3 separate regions of the Homo sapiens genome follow, and regions 1 and 2 are each linked to region 3. Evidence: promoter capture Hi-C in 16 types of primary human blood cells and fetal thymus (Javierre and others, 2016). All regions are on one chromosome and are shown on one strand. Each heading gives the region's core, a stretch centred on a gene start or on the middle of the fragment in contact. The rest is flanking DNA. Distances are from core to core; before and after follow the strand shown. Region 1 overlaps TRIM67 (tripartite motif containing 67). Region 2 overlaps EXOC8 (exocyst complex component 8). Region 3 holds the start of COG2 (component of oligomeric golgi complex 2).

What was found. The method cuts DNA at HindIII sites, captures the fragments that hold promoters and counts their contacts. A CHiCAGO score of 5 or more calls a contact.
Region 1: a contact is called between a fragment that was not itself captured here and the fragment with the promoter of COG2 in region 3, in 1 of 17 cell types (megakaryocytes). The highest score is 5.1, in megakaryocytes.
Region 2: a contact is called between a fragment that was not itself captured here and the fragment with the promoter of COG2 in region 3, in 2 of 17 cell types (fetal thymus and naive CD8 T cells). The highest score is 5.8, in fetal thymus.

What each region holds. Positions count from the first base shown.
Region 1 is chr1:231,194,364-231,198,950 of GRCh38, forward strand. TRIM67 (tripartite motif containing 67) reads left to right here. Exons shown (of 10, transcript NM_001004342.5): 2 at 3,008-3,103. Among named protein-coding and RNA genes, the nearest start is that of TRIM67-AS1, 9.0 kb to the left of the region's middle. The HindIII fragment of the contact is 546 bases long and covers 2,385-2,930 here.
Region 2 is chr1:231,330,354-231,335,181 of GRCh38, forward strand. It overlaps EXOC8 (exocyst complex component 8), which reads right to left. Exons shown (of 1, transcript NM_175876.5): 1 at 2,400-4,828. Among named protein-coding and RNA genes, the nearest start is that of EXOC8, 5.1 kb to the right of the region's middle. The HindIII fragment of the contact is 1,959 bases long and covers 2,421-4,379 here.
Region 3 is chr1:230,639,925-230,644,520 of GRCh38, forward strand. It overlaps COG2 (component of oligomeric golgi complex 2), which reads left to right and starts at 2,557. Exons shown (of 18, transcript NM_007357.3): 1 at 2,557-2,754. The coding sequence starts at 2,683. LOC124904545 (a long non-coding RNA gene) reads right to left here and starts at 773. Exons shown (of 2, transcript XR_007066935.1): 1 at 370-773; 2 at 1-193. RefSeq lists silencers at 2,351-2,490, 4,104-4,223 and an enhancer at 2,581-2,800. The HindIII fragment of the contact is 12,366 bases long and covers 1-3,082 here.

The sequences.
Region 1 (4,587 bases), core at 1,408-3,907, 550 kb after region 3:
TGGGCTCTGCACCCCACTAAGGATGTGGCAAAATTAAGGCTGTCAGGGCAGAAATAATTTGATAAAGGTTCATTGGAAGCCAAGTGTGAGGCTCGACTGGGGAAGACACACCAACAAAGCTGGGCATGTTCCAGAGCCTGTCACAGGTTGGAAGGCTTATCTAGAAAGTGAAGGAGAAGGGAGAGCTCCTCCTATCAGAGTTGTCCTTTTCCATTGATGGCTACAGCACAGAGGTTACATTCATTGGCTACAGATGACAACATACAGGCTAACATTCCATGTGCAAGGCGATCAGTAAAACTTTGTGATTCAGAAACAAATGTGTCATTTTTATTTTGAGACACAGTCTCACTCTGTCACCTAGGCTGGAGCACAGTGTCATAATCATAACTCACTGTAACCTCAACCTCCTGGACTCAAGCCATCCTCCTGCCCCAGCCTCCCGAGTAGCTGGGACTACAAGCACACACCACCATGCCCAGCTAATTTTTAAAATTTTTTTATAGAGAGAGGGTGAGGATGAGGGAGGAAAGCGGGGCCGGGGAGTGCGGCAGGGAGGTCTCTCTATGTTGCCCAGGCTGGTCTTGAACTCTTGGCCTCAAGCAATTCTCCTGCCTCTGCCTCTGAGTAGCTGGAATTACAGGAATGAGCTACCCCACCTGGCTTCACTGTCCTTTTTGATGTCAGTAGGTTATGTATTAATCAGTATGTCAACAGTTTGAGGAACTCACAGTAAGATTTGAGGGCCTCGGGATAAGAGCCTTTTCTCAGAGACAGGATGTAAGCCATGAATCACGAGGCCTTTCCCAGGAGGTTAATCCAGAAGCCTGCCAAATGTGACCTGTAGGTTATCAGATGGGTGTCAAACCTGTGCTCTCCAGGACTAGCCACTGGCTAATCACACATGGCAGTTGCAACTTACCCTAAATAATATGAAAAGTCCAGCTCCTCAGTCACATTAGCTACTTCAAGTGCTCAGTACCCACAGGCAGCTAGCGGCTACCGTCAGGGACAGAGCAGACCTGAGACGCTTCTGCCATCACTGTATATTCTATGGGATGTTTCACTGCCTAGGTGCTGGCAACAGATGGTGGTACACTGTGGGCCAGCTATGGAGTGGAGAGCCTAAACCCACTGAGGTGGGGCTGGGAGTGGTGAGGCTCATGGTGTAGGAAAAAGCTTCTCCAAGGAGCTGCACCTCCGCTGATCCTTAGCCTAAGGCTCCTGCTCTCTCTGAGCAGACAGCCTAGACCTTGACCTCTCCTTGCGTGCTGGTGCTCCTGGGGACCGGGCCCCCTTCCTTGTATTTCCACCTACTCCCTGTGTCTTTTTGTGGGCTTCCTTTGCCATCTTCTCCATAGGTTTTCAGTGGAGGCTGCACTTGCACAGTCCAGGGGATCTCAAACTGCATCAGAACCCCCTGGAGGGCTTGGTAAACCGCAGACTCCAGGGCTTCACCCACGACCTCTGATCAGCAGATCTGGGGTGCAGCCAGAGACGGTGCACTTCAACAAATCGCCCAGTGATGCTGATGTTGCTGGTCTAGAACCACACTTTGACAACCGTTGGTGTGGTCTAAAGAATCCCATTCACTGATTCATGCATTCAACAAATATTTATTGAATGCCACCATGTGCCGGGTACTCTTCCAGTGCCGGGATAAGCTGTGAGCCACCCAGCAAAGCCCTTGTCCTTCATTCTAGGACATGGAGATGGACAGCAAACAAGTTTTCTAGGTTGGGTGGTGACGACTGTTAGGAGGAAGAATAAGCCAGGGGAAGGCGAGGGGGATATTGCACAAGGTCGTGAGGAAAGTCCTCACTGACACAGTGACGTCTGAGCAGAGACCTGGGAGGGGACTTGGGGGAGAAGGAGACCCTGGCCCTTCTGACTCTGCTTTGTTCTATCCTCAGCTTTTTAATGTGGAAAATGAGAGTCATGTAAAAATCAGGGTCACAGTCTGGATGGGCGTGATGGCTCACACCTGTAATCCCAGCAATTTGGGAGGCCAAGGTGGAAGGATCACTTGAGACCAGGAGTTTGAGATCAGCCTGAGCAACACAGCCTCCGAGACACCATCTCTACTAAAAAATGCAAAAATTAGCTGGAGGCTGATTTGGGAGGATCACTTGAGCCTGAGAGGTTGAGGCTGCAGTGAGTCATGATTGAGCCACTGCACTCTAGCCTGGGCAACACAGTGAGACCCTGTCTCAAAAAAAAAAAAAATCAAGGTCACAGTCTACTCAATAGCTAGGTTTTAAAGACAAATTCAATTGTGTGTGTATGTGGTTCGTTACAAAAAAGCCTGGTGCCAAAAGCCATAGATTTGAGCTCAGCTTGCAATTTCACCCTTGGGCCACAGCAACTGATCCTCATGCTTCAGAAGCTTCTGCTGGTCACACCCCTCTCTGCAGGGTGAGGAGTCCCCAGGGCTAAGGGTACCAGGCTAGGAGCCTGTATGCCCCTTTAGAGGATGCCCTAGGATTACCAGTCCATACACCTAGTCCAGTTCCAGGACCCACAGCCCCCTTCCTGTCCATCCCTCAGGGCATACCAGGCCCCAGGGTTTGCACCCCAGGCCAGGAGATGACTGTGTAGGGATGGGGTGGACGGAACCTGACCTGGGGTCTGGAATGTCCATACAGGCATGTACTGATTATGGATAGAGGGGGCCAGGCCAAGCCAAGGACTCTATTTATCTTCTTGTCTTGGGCTCTACAAACATCAGGGGCAGACCTGTTTGCTTCAACCCGTTAGCTGAGTGCTCCTTACCTCTATCCAGCTTTGGGGATGAGAAAGGAGAGTGCAGGCCAATCTACCACTGTTGGAAAAATAAACAAATGTTGTAGAGATCATGGGTCAGTGGTGGTCCCTTCATCAATGAGAACAGCAGATGCGTGGGATCAGTCCTATCCCCTCTTATAAACATAAGCTTTTATGATGAAGTGCAAATTTTCTGTGCCTTTCACAACTAATTTTTCTTTTCAACATGTGATATCTTTTTCAGGCACAACTATCTCAGGCCTTAAATGGAGTTTCAGATAAGGCAAAGGAAGCAAAGGAGTTTCTGGTTCAGCTAAAGAACATATTGCAGCAGATCCAGGTGAGCACAGCTCTGGCGTCGGGAGAAATACTCAGTGTTGAAAGTTTGCACGTTGTGCATCGTATTAAGAAGAAAGAGGCGGGGCACGGTGGCTCACACCTGTAATCCCAACACTTTGGGAGGCCGAGGCGGGCAGATCACCTGAGATTGGGAGTTTGAGACCAGCCTTACCAACATGGAGAAACCCGTCTCTACTAAAAATACAAAAATTAGCCGGGCGTGGTGGCGCATGCCTGTAATCCCAGCTACTCTGGAGTCTGAGGCAGGAGAATCACTTGAACCTGGGAGGCGGAGGTTGCAGTGAGCCGAGATTGTGCCATTGCACTCTGGCTTGGGCAACAAGAGAGAAAGTCTGTCTCAAAGAAAAGAAGAAGAAGAAGAAGAAGGAGAAGGAGAAGGAGAAGGAGAAGAAGGAGAAGAAGAAAGGAAAAGTCTTGTAGCAAGCATTTTCTCAGTGATGGACATTAGAAGGTTTATGTGTCCTACCCTATAGCCTTGGGTGCTGAAAGTGTCACATATTCAACTCATTGGCACACAAGTGACACCTGATACAGGAAAGGACTTTTACATGGAGCCAATTAGAGAGAGCTGGAAAGATGTGATCTAGCACTCTACGTGCCATGTCGTCGTCCTTTGTGGCATCTGTATATGGTGCTTTTGTGGCCGAATATGCCCATGTCATCAATGCATCAAAATATAAATGCATCATTTTCTAAACAAATGTGTTTACTGAACTCTTATGCTGTGTCATGTACTGAGCCCAGCACAAGATACAAAGATCAATGAGGCACCATGTGTGCCTCAGGGTCTGTCTATAGGGGAGAACGTGCACACACAGGTGCTCCTGTGTGAATGTGCACACATAGAGGAACTGCTCATAAGATGAGAAAGCATTAACATATCTGGAGGAATAAGAGGGACTGAATTCTTTTTTTTTTGAGACAGAGTCTCACTCTGTCGCCCAGGCTATAGTGCAATGGCACGATCTCAGCTCACCGCAACCTCCGCCTCCCAGGTTCAAGCAATTCTCCTGCCTCAGCCCCCTGAGTAGCTGGGATTACAGGCATGTGCCCCTACACCCAGCTAATTTTGTATTTTTAGTGGGGACGGGGTTTCTCCATGTTGGTCAGGCTGGTCTCCAACTCCCAACCTCAGGTGATCCACCCGCCTTGGCCTCCCAAAGTGCTGGGATTATAGGCATGAGCTGCCGCGCCGGGCCTGTTCTATTACTTTAAACACACATACACACACACACACAATGTATGAGATTATGCTGTGAATAACGTGTATCCTGACTTTTTTTCTTTCTTAACAGTCTCTCATGAGCATTTTCTCATGGCATTAAAAGTGCCCTATGAACAAGATTTGAATGACTACAGAATATTCTGCCATATGGCTGTGATGAGATTCATAGTACCTGCCTTAATTCATATAAATATTGTCTCTAATTTAACAACATTATAGAGAAATCTAGGATGAACTTC
Region 2 (4,828 bases), core at 2,150-4,649, 690 kb after region 3:
AAAGTGGCAAAAGATATAAACAGGAAGCTTAATAGAAAAAGAAAGTTGTTCAACCTCACTCATAATTACATACAAAACTAGAAGCTGGGCATGGTGGCTCATGCCTATAATGGAAGCACTTTGGGAGGCCGAGGTGGGAAGATTGCTTGAGCCCAGGAGTTCAAGATCAACCTGGGCAACAAAGTGAACACCACCCCCCACAACCTCTGCCCTGTATGTATAGAAAAATTTAAAAATTAGCCAGGCAGGAGGATCCCTTGGGCCAGGCCAGGGAGGTTGAGGCTACAATGAGGCATGATAGCACCATCGCACTCCAGCCTGGGCGATACAGTGAGATCCTGGCTCAAAAAACAAACCAACCAACAAACAAAAATGAGAACAACCTAGAAGCTATTTTTTCACAGAGAAGATTAGTAACAATGAATATTATTACTAATAAGATGACTTTTTTTTGAGACAGGGTCTCGCTCTGTCCCCCAGGCTAGAGTGCAGTGGTGCTGTCATGGCTCACTACAGCCTCAACCTCCTGGGCTCAAGCAATCCTCCTGCCTCAGCCTCCCGAGTAGCTGGGACTTACAGGTGTGCGCCACCACGCCCGGCTAATTTTTCTATTTTTTGTAAAGACGGGGGTCTACCTATGCTATTCAGGCTGGTCTCGAACTCCTGGGCTTAAGCAATCCACTCTCCTTAGCCTGCCAAAGTGTTGGGATTACAGACTTGAGCCACTGTGCTTGGCAAGGCTACTCTTAATTAAACAGTGAATGAATACAGGTTTATAAGCATTCATGTAAACAGGTATTTTCCTATACTGTTGGAGAGAACTTAAAAATGATATAACCCTCCTGATGAGCAACTGGTAATGCTTAAATTTAAAATGTAATTTGGCAGAGCAATTTCTAAAAATACATCCCATAGATATATTCGCATAAGCGAATAGGAGGATGTGCATAGGTTTTCAGAATTTTTTTTTTGTAATCAACAAAACTTGAAGCCAACCAAGTAATTGGAAAATGCAAAATTATGATATATTCATTCACTGTGATTGACAACTACCCAATCACAGAAGAAAAACCCAGTGGGGTACAGCAAGAGGTACTGATACGAGATGTCTTAAAACACTGAACTGCTAAGTGACTAAAATCAAGATGCAGAACTGTATGCAGAGTATGATACAATTTCTGGAAAAATATGTACATGAAATTCTTACTAGTAGTTACCTCTAGTGAATGGGATTGTTGGGGGGATGAGGACTTTTATTTTTTACTTTAACTCTTCTGCACATTGCATATGGATTGAAGCTTGCTTTGTAGGCAAATGTGGCTTATTTACGCTTTTCCAAACTCTGCAATTCATCCAGGAAGGTCTCTTCATATGACACCCACATTCCCACTTCTGTGCCTTGGGCTCAGGTCCTACTCTTCCATTTTCTTTGCACATTTAAGTCTTGTCCATTCTTCAAGGACCCGCTCAAATGCCAACAATTCCATGAGAACTTTCTAAACTCCTTAAAAGTACACTGCTCTCTTCCTTCTTGGTATTTCCACTGTACACAGCTGTGCATTTGATTATTCTCTCACTTATATTTGTTGACTTTTTCCAATTTCTAAGCATCTTAAGAGGACGAAGTATGTTTAAAATTATTAAAATTCTTCTGCACTCCCACATTACAGTCAATATGAAGCATAGCATTCAATACTTTTAAATATGTGATAGTTTCCTCAGGATATACATATTACTTTCAAAAGGGCAAGCCTGGCCGGGCATGGTGGCTCACGCCTGTAATCTCAGCACTTTGGGAGGCCGAGGCGGGTGGATCACCTGAGATCAGGAGTTCGAGACCAGCCTGGCCAACATGTTGAAACCCCATCTCTACTAAAAATAAAAAAATTAGCCGGGCATGGTGGCGGGCCCCTGTAATCCCAGCTACTCAGGAGGCTGAGACAGGAGAATGGCTTGAACCCAGGAGGCAGAGATTGTAGCGAGCAGAGATCACGCCACTGCACTCCAGCTTGGGCGATATGGGAAGACTCTGTCTCAAAAAAAAAAAAAAAGGCCAAGCCTTGTCATTTAGTTCCTAGGTCTTGTGGCCTACATTTTATTTTCTTTATTTAGAGATGTGCAGATGGTATAAAATCTACTTTTTTATAATAAATTCACATTTTGTACCTCTGAAATTTTCCATTCGAGGGAATTTTAAAAAATTGAGATCTGATTTATTCACAATTCTGACGGTAAGCAGAACACTTACTTAATTTAGCAAACAGCTTCCTAAGTATCCTCCCCACATAAATAAAACAAAAAACTAGGGTCTTCAAAGAATATTTCAGTAACAAGAATATAAAAATATTGAATACCAACTAAAGAAGAGCAATAGATATAATATCTTAATATCACTTTTATCCAGTGTAAGACAATTTTTAAGCTTTATTTTTATGAAACATTTCAGATTCCCTCATATCACAGCACATCAATAAGCAGTATGTACATAGACTGACTTTTATAGTACATGTCATGTCCCAAATTCCCAATCCTAGGTAAGATATCAAGTTACAAAATACAAGTGCCGATAATTAAACTATAGGTAGTATATTAAACAAAAATGAGTTTTTAGCAATTATGTGAAATAAGGCTTTAACCAAAGCAAGACTTAATGCCACAAGGTGTCTTTTTTCCCCAAGAGTAATTAATTCAATCAAGCCCATGATTCCAAGCTCAAGTAACAAGTTTTATATTCTTGAAGCAAACAAGAAAAGGCAATCAATGCTTAAGTGGTATATTTTAGTATATATTACATTTCTGGACAATCTCTCATTGCATTCAATTTTTAGAACTTGTCTTGGGTCTAATAAAACAGAAGAATTAGAGAAGAAAGCCCATGCCACTTTGAGGAATGTAACATAATTGTTTTGTCTGGGTACAAAGGTACGTTACAACACTGGGGGTCTTTAGTCAAGTTCCCATACTAATTGACTCACCAAAGCATACTTCCTTCAGCTACAACTGTAATTGGAACACACAGATTTTACCTGAAGAAAATCCTGTACTTCCAGTTTTAAAAAGCAGACAATTCTATGAAGAAGCAACCATTTAAATATCTAACTATACACATTCAAGTTTTTACAACTTCATGCCTTATGAGGAATTTTGATTTCAGAAGTATCATTCCACAGACTCAGCATCATATATTTATACATATTTCATACAGTATAGTATTAGAAACTGTAAATGGCACAGAATAATCATAATTATCACAAAATTTTATCAATTTCCAGTGATCTTAAAAAGACAAATTATAACCGCCTTTGCTCAGCTAAGATATCCAGTTATGGTTACAACTTTCGAAAATCCTAAAGTTATGTGAAAAAAATTAGTCAAAGAAAATCTGTAAATCTGATACTTTCCAATATTTTAAATATGCACAGCTAAAGAGAAAATAAAGGGGTTGATCTGGCACATGAATAATTAAGTCAATGAATTTTACAACCCTGAGCCACTTTGGCAACTACTTTAGGTTTCACATAATTTTCACAGTCTTAGTACCACCATTTTCATTCAGATAAAAGAAATGACCTTTTGAAATCATGGGCATCAAATTTGGTGCTTATGGACAAGAATCACAACTAGAAGCTAGAGACAAAATGGATCACAGCAAGCACAGTTTCCCTCAAAGAATAAGGAACGCTATAGAATATACAACAGCGATAGTTTAGAAACCTTGGGAAGCTCACATTTCTTTAGTTATTTTGTTTTACTAAACAATTTGAAGTAAGCATTATATTCATGTTTAAAAACAAAGCAAGGAAAAATAAAAAATGAAACAAAAATGCAGCATGGAACATTTTAGGAGTCACAGAAGGTTCTCTTCTTCCCTTTGTTTTGGGCACATTGTCTCACCTGTTTTCACTTTGTTACAAAAGGAAACAAAACCAAATCTCTGCTCAGAGTGGTCATAGTGAGAACACTGAGATTTGCATATGTTTTTCTACTTTCCCATCCATCTAGACCCTGAAATCTAAATAAATATTTCAGTTAAAACTTTTTTTCCATTTGCATGAAGTCTGGGTCACTATATCTCCTACCCTGAATGGGGGAAGATGGGACAGCTATATCTCATACTGAAGCGGTGGCAGCTAAAACCTGGCAACTGCTGCCAGTGTCCCCAATGTGTCTTGCTTATTATTTTTTAAAATGTGACAAAGACAAAAGCTACAGCTGGAAACTCACACAATTTAGAAATATGTTGAAAACTTTTATTATAGTCCTTAGGATTTCCAAGTAAATGCTCCCAAATCAAGTATTACAAAGCTGCTAATTAATTAGCAACTGAAAATTAGCCATTCAAATTATATTGGAAATATTTGCTGAATTGTTTTTATGAAAGCTTCCTCTTGGATTCTGTAAGGATCAGAGTATCTGAATCCACAAACCAGCTAGTTTCAAGAAAGAATTCTTTTGACTAAAACTTACCTTAAAACCAATTTTCCCAACTCTTTTCCTTTTCCCAAATAGTCCAACGTTTTGAGGAGAAATATATGAGGCAGGTTGTTTTATACGGCACTGTACCCTTTAGGAAACCTAACATTTCAGTGAACTGGGAAACTTCACAACATAAACTCTATGTATTTATAGATATTATGACTGCTGTATAATATATACTGTGGGGAAAAAAAAAAAGAAGAAAGAAAAGACTAGCCTGGGCAACATGGCGAAACCCCATCTCTACAAAAAATACAAAAATTAGCTGGGTATGGTGGTGCCTGCCTGTGGTTCCTGCTACATGGGAGGCTGAGGTGGGAGGACTACCTGGGCCCGGGAGGTCAAGGCTGCA
Region 3 (4,596 bases), core at 1,307-3,806:
TCAGCTCTGAGTGGAAACCCAGGGCCATGTCCTCTGGGCAGGTGTAGGCTTTCTCTCTTGCGTTTGTCCTCTGTAGATTATGATGCTAGCATTGAAGTCTTTCTTGTTGCGCCTGGCTGTGGTGGTCTGCACCACTATCTGTGTCTCCAAGCCGCAGCCCACTCCATGGGGTCCTGATGGTTCCCTTCTGAATCTAGGGAGGACAGCAGGCAGCAGGGACCCTCCATCGCTGTTGCCACTTAATCCCTTTAGCATCCTCAAGATAAGCCCAGTCTGTACAAATTCAGGTTCATTTTATTTCTAAAGTCCCAGGAACAATGTCAGAAGGGAATTACAGTGAAGAAAGAAAGAGTTCAAGTTCCAGCTTACCTAGACTTCCTGCAGAGCCTCGAAAGAGAAGGCAGGGTTGCAGACATCTTTGTTTCATCTGTCCAGCATCCTCTCCCGTGCCTTGGTACTGGGCTTTGAAGCCAGGCTGCCTGGGTTTGCAACTTGCCACTTATTAACAGTGTGACCTTGGGATAAAGGCCCACCTTTCAGAGCCACTATAGATTGGTTATTGGAATTGCTGGTTTTGTTAGGTGTTACAAAATGTCAGGGTTTTTTTTTCTTCTTTTGATGCGTAAACTGAGGTATTAGGGGATAGGAAATGATATGGTGTTTAGAATTTGCTTTAAAACATATTCCAATAAAAGGGCTGGACTCAGTGGTTCATGCCTGTAAACCTAGCACTTTGGGAGGCTGAGGCGGGTGGATCATCTGAGGTCAGGGGTTCGAGACCAGCCTGACCAACAGGGAGAAACACCATCTCTACTAAAAGTACAAAATTAGCCAGGCATGGTGGCACATGCCTGTAATCCCAGCTACTCGGGAGGCTGAGGCAGGAGAATCGCTTGAACCTGGGAGGTGGAGGTTGCGGTAAGCAGAGATCATGCCATTGCACTCCAGCATGTGTAACAACAGTGAAACTCCGTCTCAAAAAAATATATATATATATGTATATATATATATATATAAAACAACAAAAAAAGAAGGTCTCGATGCGGTGGGTGGGGAAGGGCAGAGGAGACAGGTTGATGATGGTTGAAGCGAGGTGCTAAGTACATAGGGTGGGGTTCTTGTGCTCTCCACACTTCTGTGTACTTGAAAATTTTCATAACAAGAGAAAACAAAAAATTAAACAGAAAATGAGGTTTTCATTTCCTCCAGCAAAACAAACATAACAGGGACTTAGGATGTACTTTTCCCAATCGCTCCTCTGGCAGAATATTTTGATCCTCCAGCTAGCTTCCGGCTCTTATCCTGTTCATCTGTTCTGTAGATACTGGCAGGAAATAGGCTCTTCAACAGGGCCTGCTAGGTCCAGTGCTAGGGAGTAGAGCGTTTTGGATTCTACGCCTACATTTTTTTTTAAGTGACCAGTTTTCTAGTTGAGATACTTGAAATACAAAGTCTCATGGTGAGGTCTTACCCTCTGCTGTCCCATTCCTTTTTACAGGCCATCATGGCGTTAATCTTATCTCCAAGGAGAAAAATTGGGAAGAGAGGCCTAGATTCCTCAACAGAAGCGGGAAGGAAAGGTTTGCAGAATGAAGAGTGTGAAGTGAGGTTTGTGGTTTGAATCATCCGAATGTCAAGGAGAAAAGAAGAAAAATGAATCATCATCATTTGACCACGGTATTTACAGCTAGCGGAAGGGACAAGAGGAGAAAAAAGCAAGGGAGGAGATAAAGGAAGAACGTCTCAGAATAAAATTGGGGTGGGTGGGGGGAGGAGGAGGAAGACAGTCTAAGAAATTGGTTTGGTTGCACCAGTACTGGCCACAACACAAAAATTTGTCCATTCCTGGTTGAAATTAAAAATAAATGTGCATGCACATGTATTTGTCTGCTGTGTTTAATCAGATAGCGAGGCACTCCTTTAAGCACCTTGAAGACCCAAAGTTGCGCTCAGAGGCTGCCCACCTGGAACGGAGACCGAGGTTGAGCAGGGAGCTACTCAGAGGACCCAAAGCCGCCTAGCTGACCACCTTCTTCCCTATGAGTTCCCAGTAACGGAGCCCAGTGGAGGAGACGCTACACTTCTCTGTGGGGACAGAGGCTAAGGGCGGGGGTCTCCATAGAGGCGTTAGCGCCCACCAGCGGCAGTGACCGCGCACAGGGAGGTGAAGAATGCGACCACGGTGATACGTCCAACCTGGAAAACGGGCCTGAGAACCAAAGGGCCAACTTCTGGCCATGCATAACGAAGCAGAGCAGTCTCAGGGTAGAAGGCACTGGAAAAGCGTTGTAGGACAATTTTTCCCAGTAGAAACGGTGGGGGTGGGAGGGAGACCCGCTCACCCCTTTTGACCCACCCCTGCAGCTCAGCCACGCCTCCTAGGGAGGTGGGCAGCCTTGCAGGAGCCCGCGCGAGGCTGCAGTACCGCCCTCCGCCACATGAGGGCAGCACGGCCTACCCGTGCAGCAGCGGCGGCCCCCGCGCCCCTCTTGGCCAGAGCCAGGCGCAGGCCGGCTTGCGGTGCCGTCGTTCATTGGCCGCGGCGCGGGCGCTGCCATGTTGGCGGAAGCGGACCCCCCTGTGCCGTGGAAACTGGCGGTGGCCGCGGCCGCCGAGTCGGTCTGCGCAGCCTCCTGCGTTTTCTCGCTTGGATCTTGGCACTGAGAGGCGGTGGCCGGCGGGATGGAGAAAAGTAGGATGAACCTGCCCAAGGGGCCGGACACGCTCTGCTTCGACAAGGACGAGTTCATGAAGGTGCGCGCGGCGTCCGCTCCCCGGAGCCGGGCCATGAGGGTGCCTCTGCCCTGTGCCCTCTGTGGCGGTCTCTTCGGTCGGCTGCTCCTGCCTGCGCACGCTCAGTGTCAGGTCCTCCGCCGAGACCTCGCTGCACTTCGCAATGAGTCTTTTGGCGTCAGGTTTGGCGGGTGCAGCCTGGAGAAAGCACTTCTGTAAAATCGTGCGTGTTACATGGAAAGGCCTGAAAGTTCTGGGCAAGTGGTTTTGAGCTGCATGTCAAAGCCACTGTTACCCGTTCCTGTTACCATGCAGTGCAGTCAGATTGCCAGTCCCCTTGTCGGAAAGAAGCTTGTGGACCGGGGCCTTGGAGCTCATTAAGTGTGTGTTGAATAAATCTCCAAGCCCACGTACTTTCCTAGGGACTCGGGTCGGAAAGAAAAAGAACTTAATCTGAAGTTTTGCTTAACATTCAGCTAAAGCTTCCAGAATGGGATATTTAGAAGCTTAGAACATTCTTACCGACTATTGCAGTACGACAAAGCAAACCATTACTCTTTAAAGAAGTTGCTCTACTTTTTACGTGATGCATTTGAAGAAGTTGGTAGTTGTAGGTCATAAACTTAGAGAAAAGAAATATAAACTGAAAACACTTCACTGATGATAAAGTTCATCAGGCACAGCCTTGAAAATGGCCAGGCTTTGAGTGAGAGCTGGGAGGAGCTTTGCTCCTACTTGGTGTATCCCTCTGGGTCTGCACTTAAGCCATTCAAAAAATGTTTCTATTTAATTTCCTGAGGACTAGGATTTTTGACACCTTTTAGTAGCTGCTTTCAGTGTTAAAAAGCGAAAAGTTTTAGCTGGTTAGTAGACATCTACAATTTTGAGCAAGTGAGTTGAAATCTTACTCTGCCTTTCTTGGTGACATAATGTTTTCTAGATTAATTAGCCTATCTCTTTTTGATAATATTTGCATTCAGATTACATCTCCAAAGCTGTTTTTTTTTAAAGTAGATCTGTATCTTCTCCAGTGTGACCATATCATTTTTCGTATGTAGGACTTATCTATACCCAGGAATAATGTACCTTATTCTTGTAAGTGATATTCCTATTAGACCACTGTACTAAAAGGTGTAACTTCATTAGGATGTCTCAAAGAATGTACAGAATCAACTCATTGATCCAGAAACCCTTCGTTTTGCCTACTGGCTAAGAGCTACCCTGAAATGAGGGTAGAAAGAAACAGCTAAGGGTACATGCTGGGGAGAGGTGCCCTGGAAGAGGAAAGGCCATACACGGAGATCAGGGGCCTTGTTGACGTCAAGAATCTCAGAGTACAGAATAATCTCAGTTTGTCCATCTCTTGACTTCTTAAGGCTCAACACCAGCATCTTCTCTGACTCACTAGCCCCACCACCTTTCCCACTCTGAGTTGACAGAATGCCTTTGGTAAATGCAGCTTCAGGAAGTGAAATCACAGAAATACAAGTTCTAAAATAGAACTTAGAGTGCAAACTGGGGTGGTGGCTGGAATGCCAGCAATTGCATATTTCGTGGCTCTGTGAATATGCGGTACATTTTGTAGTGCTTATAAAAGTGACAACATACATAGAAGAAAATACATAGAACAGCTGTTCTGTGTAAAATTTTGTTGATTTTTTAGGTGGAGCTTGAAGATAAAGGTTATTTGCAATTTGTGTTGCCTTAAACATATAAAACTACATATAAGTTGCACTTCCATGGCAGAAAGGATGGTTGGAACACTTGTCCAGGCTATATTTCTATGTTTGTGTCTCATTCAGCACATTTTGTAATTGGATAGGTTTTGTACGTGTGAGAAAGTTGGGATATGACATTTGCATT